Linked DNA regions of Homo sapiens: region 1 is linked to region 2. Evidence: promoter capture Hi-C in 16 types of primary human blood cells and fetal thymus (Javierre and others, 2016). All regions are on one chromosome and are shown on one strand. The core of a region is centred on a gene start or on the middle of the fragment in contact, and the rest is flanking DNA. Distances in the headings are between cores, read along the strand shown.

What was found. Contacts are between HindIII fragments. The CHiCAGO score rates a contact against its expected background, and 5 or more counts as called.
Region 1: a fragment that was not itself captured here is called in contact with the fragment with the promoter of RMDN2-AS1 in region 2 in 2 of 17 cell types (M2 macrophages and M1 macrophages); the score reaches 5.3 in M2 macrophages.

What each region holds. Positions count from the first base shown.
Region 1 is chr2:38,503,694-38,506,393 of GRCh38, reverse strand. All of the region lies in intron 1 of LINC02613 (long intergenic non-protein coding RNA 2613), which reads left to right. Among named protein-coding and RNA genes, the nearest start is that of LINC02613, 11 kb to the left of the region's middle. The HindIII fragment of the contact is 2,436 bases long and covers 213-2,648 here.
Region 2 is chr2:38,035,069-38,037,768 of GRCh38, reverse strand. RMDN2-AS1 (RMDN2 antisense RNA 1) reads left to right here and starts at 1,428. Exons shown (of 4, transcript NR_102712.1): 1 at 1,428-1,619. It also overlaps a transcript of RMDN2 not described here. The HindIII fragment of the contact is 2,287 bases long and covers 611-2,700 here.

The DNA.
Region 1 (2,700 bases), core at 181-2,680, 470 kb before region 2:
CAACATGAGATTTTGGTGGGGACACAGAGCCAAACCATATCAGGCATGGTGGTGTGCCCCTGTAGTCCCAGCTTCTTAGGAGACTGAGGTGGGAGGATTGCTTGAGCCAGGGAGGTTGAGGCAGCAGTGATCTGTAATCATGCCACTGCACTCCAGCCTGGGTGACAGAGACCCTGTCTCAAACAAACAAACAAACAAAAAAAGGTAAAGCTTCTTTTCCTCAAAATATGCCATAAAGTAAAATAAAAAACAGACAAACACAAACTGGGAAAAGATATTTGCAATGTGGCAGTCAGGGGAGTGTGCTGTTCGGCTCCTTTCAACAGAGACACACTTATGAGGTGTGATTGGCTGACAGCCTGGAGTTGCCTCATCTTCAGGATCCACCACTGTGTTCTAGCAGAGGCTCTGCTAGCTCTGACCGATCCTAGCCAATGTCTGAGTACGGAGGGAGTACCAGAGTTGAGTCATTCCTGCTCAGTGTGGGACTTCTTTAAAAGGCAAACTTTCTTCTGAGGCTCCCCATTAGCCTGGCTGACTTTCTCAGAGCTGCCCTGCAGATGGAGGCTTTTCCCACCCAATTCTCTTTCCTCTTCTTCCCTTTCACAGGCATAAAGACCTGCACTGGGGTCTGAAAACTCTCCCCAACCATGCCTGCTCTTTTCCCCATTATCCTGCGCAGGTATTACCCCCCATTATTGTCTTGCACTTCCAATTTTGTTTTGATTTCTGCTTCTTGGAAGACTTGAATTAATATAGCCTATAAAGAACAAAAGACTAGTATCCAAGCTGGGCATGGTGGCTCACGCCGTAATCCTAGAGCTTTGGGAGGCTGAGGTGGGAGGATTGCTTAAGGCCAGGAGTTTGAGACCAGCCTGGGCCAAATAGCAACACCTCATCTCTACAAAACAAAAAAAGGACTATTATTCAGAATGTATATGATTTGGAATCATATGCATTCTATAGGATTCAAATCATATAGACAAATTTATATACAATCCAAACTGTATATTGATTAGAAAAAGATAAATGGCTCAATAAGAAATTAGGCAAAAGATATGAACAGACAATTCACAGAAGATGAAATCTAAAAGGCCAATAAATACATGAAAAGATGCCAATCTCAGTAGTAGCCGGGGAAATGTAAATTAAAGCAAAGCAAGGTACCATTTTATATCTCTAAGATTGGTAAAAAAACAACCATTTGCCAAAGTATTTGAGAAGATACAGAGCAACATGTACACTGTGGGCGGAAGTATAAATTGATGCAACCATTTTGGATAGTAATTTAGTAATTACTTATCTAGTAAAGATGTGGAAGTACTTAACCATCAATTCCACTTAAGAGATTCTCCCATGTGTACATAAGATATGCAGAAGAATATATTATAGAATTATGTGAAAGAAGAAAAAACCCAGAACAACCTAAATATTCACTAAGAGAAAAACAAATAAGTAAATATCACATAACTGTGAAAAGAAACCAAAACAAAAATTTCCAGGAAATTTTTGAAAAGGAAGTGAAAAGTTGACTTTGGCTGTGAAAGTCCTATAATATTTTTTAAATTTTTTTTTAAAGTAAAAAGAGAGGAAGAGAGAGAAAGAGATACTTGTTTATCTTCTAGTCTACAGAAACTAAATTAACAAGTACTTTTGATATGATTTGTATTGGCCACACTAACTCCTGAAGGAGACAAACTATGATCTTGTCAATCCTTCATCTATCAAAACAGATGGGGAAGAGTCGTTTGCTAACAATTTATTTTCTTTTCTTTCTTTCTTTCTTTTTTTTCTCATCAGTCTTGACAACTGTTGAAGGTGCTAGAAGTTTGGTGGTGCTGTCTTAAATGTCTGGCCTGAGTGGGCCTGGCATTCAGAAATACAGATGAGAAGGGGGAAGGGGAGGTGGGTTACGGCGGGTGGAGCAGGAAGGAATGTGGGCCCCCCTAGTGTGTGTCCCTGCTGGGGAACTGCCTCGCCACCCAGGCTTCATCTAGCATAAGGCTGCCAGCCACCTGCTGCCTCATGTGTGCTGTCCTGGAATTCTTATTACATCTCAGAAATCCTGCTCTGGCCAGTGATGAAATTACAGACAGCAGAGTCCAGCCTTGCCTATGTGACCTGAGAGGGGAAACCTCTCTTCTGGATCCCAGTTTTGGAAAATCTTCCAGGCCTCTCTGCCAGGGCCTTGTCCTCAGTTGTCTTCCTGATCTGGGACCAACTGAGAAGCCCTGAACTGTTTACTGCCCCCTCCTTTCCCCCTGGAATGCATCTATTGACTGTCACCACACCCTCCCATCAAGCCAGCAACAGGTAATAAGCATCAATAAAGAGCAAGACCTGGGGCTGGCATTGAACACAAGCAACTAGATCAGATCTGGCTTCCAAAGAGGTTGAATGAAACGAAGTGTTATTTTATTTTTTAAATCTTATTCAGAAAATATTTATTGAACCGTACAATGTACTTGGGGGGAAACATGGAAAAAGATTCATACCTTGTTCTCAGTGTTGAAAGCTCAGAGCAGAAGATAGACAAGAGAATGGATGATGACTTTTGGATGAGATAAGGGCTAGGACAGGTAAGAGCAAGGTACAATGGCACCTACTGGAGACCCCAGGAGACCTAAACCTGAGAGCTGGGGAAAGCTTCCTGGGGAAATGACATCTCAACTGAGACCTGAAGGAACAGGACTTAGCCAG
Region 2 (2,700 bases), core at 179-2,678:
CCTTTATAAGCAGTTTGTAGGTCTCCTTCCTTGAATTTCTTTCAAGCTCCCAATAGCCAACGGGAAGCCGAACACACTTTCACACTAAAAATGGGAATTCAGGGAAGTATCATCAGGTTCTGAACTATGTTTTAAGACTCAAGTCAAACACCAAAACTGAGTCACCACCTAATGTGTGTGCAGCACGTGTTAGGGGCAGTTTGCTATGTGATGACTTGAACGACAGTTTCTCTCTCCTGGGACTTTCATAAAATTCCTTTGGTGTTGCCACACACTTCTGGGATTCTCCACAATGAGCCCATTGCTGAGCCTGTCTCTGCAGATGTTTATTAAACAAGCAGAATTTAGGGGAATAGTCAGCAAGTCTTCACCAAGTTCTTCTATGTGGGCAGCTTTTGTGGTGTGGCCAGGGTATGAGGATAAAGAGCAACTTGGAAAAGTCTGGGGAGAATTTAAGTAGCCTGAAGAGTCTCTGTCCCTCAGGGAGGAAAGCTGAGAAATCGTTTCCATATTTATGTGTCAATTGCTTTATGTCCATTTATTTGATCTTCCTTACAAAATCTTGCATAGAAAATTTCATCCTCATTTTACAGATGAGGAAACTGAAGCTTAGAGAGCTTAGGTCACTTACCCAAGTTCATCCAGGTAGCAAAGTGTCAGGTCTGGATTTAAATCAGGTTGAGTCCAGTACCTTTTTCTTTTTTATATCACGCTGCCTTTCCCTAGAAGCCAAAATTTCTAGGAAATAAATGAACTGCAATGACAAAGCAGCACATTTTCCCATGTTCTTTGCTCTTGATCCCTACCTACTCTTTTCCCGGAAATAGACAATAAAGCCACCAGGATACCTGAGACAGCCTTGGTCATCTTTGTACCGTAGCCAGCACCATGGATTTTTGCCTAGTTACTTTCCCATCAGATTTTAACAGAAAGAACACTGTATTTGCCAGCTCAGTACAGCATATCTCTGGCTCTGTTTTCTCCCCAGCAGGAATCCGAGGGTCTGTCTCTGTATGTGTTATCATCAGACTGGTAAAGAGTTACATGTGTCAGCACAGAAGAAAAGAGCTTTGATGTGAGTTCAGCATGTAAGAAAGCCTTCATTGCTGTCATGCTTTCAACAGGTTCCCCACGACCCACCACTGCCTGCCAAGATGAATGTAAATGAAGCAGAAGTCTCACAGGGTAAATTCAGCTTCCCACGACCTGCAGTTGGACAGGGTGGCAAGGAGATGATGATAATTCCATGGCTCCCAGCTTAATTTCTCTTGGGGAGGGGTATGTGGACTCTTGCTATCCTGGAGTCCATATCATGCAGGACTCCGGAACATAAAAGGCAACAACAGTGAAGTGAGTGCCTGTTACAAACAAGGCTCAACTCAAAGCTAACAATTCTTCTTTATTAGGATACCACTGATCAGAGCTGCAAAGTGTACTCACATCTGTCATTTCGTGTCATTCTTACATAAATCCTGTAGCTGGGCACAGTAGGAAGAAGCATTCTCATCATGGCCACTTAGCTTGCTCGAGATTACACAGAACCATGCCTCTGGTTTCCTGGTACAGTGCTCCGGCAGGTGACGGATGCTCCTGGGTGACATATCACGGATCTCTCTGAGGTGAGATCTTCATGATTCTATATCATAGGCATCTCTTTATCTTCAAGTTGGGCAACATCAGCAGGGTTCCCATGAGTATGTGCCCAGCGAGGCTATTTAGTTCCTCTTATCTTTTTTTTTTTCTACTTGCCCTCGTTTTTCCTGAGATTTTATTTCCTTCCTAGCTGGCATACCTTTCCCTGCTGTGGTATTCAGACCTAAATAGTGTGTGCACCTATTACCTCTGCAGAGTAATTACTGTTTGGTACCATGGTAGAGTTTCTGTGTCCAGATACGGTTGTGAATGCTTGGAATGTAACATTGGGAAAGACAGAACTATTGCTTGTAAGTGGATTTGTGGACATCATGGTGCTATGAGAAAACTAAGTTGAAGATGCTCCTGCATCTTGCTGGTTAAACTAGATATAAACCAGTTGCTTAATAATTCATAGCCTATCCTATCTGTTTCCCACCCTCCTTATCTTCCAGGGACTCATTTATTGAATAACTCATTTTACATGCCTCTTTTATCATATACATTTTTATGTGTATTAGGATGTATTTATGGACTTTATATTCTATTTCACTGATTTGTCTATTCATTCATATTTCTTTGAGTATGATAGCTTTATGCATTTTTTCTTATCTGGTAGGTATTGTTGCCCCTCATTGCTTGACTTCTTCAGTATTTTCACAACTACTCTTACTTGTTTGATTTTCCATTTGAACCTCAGAACATAAAAAGAATCTTGTTGGTATTTGTATTGGAATTTTATCAAATTTGTAGATTAATTGAAGGATATTGGATAATTTTAGGATGCTGTCTTCCTAATCAAAATATAGTGTGTCTTTTTATTTGTTCAAACTTTTGGGGTTCCTTCAATTTCTGCTTGCCTATCAGACATGATTCTTATATTTATTCCTAGATATTTGATCTTGTTTTACTCAGGGTAAATGAGGCATTACCTTCCAGTACACCTTCTAACTGGCTGCCATCTGTATTTGTCATGGCTACTGATTTCTATATATTTATTCTTTTATTGTTGAAGAATGTTTTGTAGTTCGTTCTTTCAGGTTTTTCACACGTGAATTTATTTGCCAA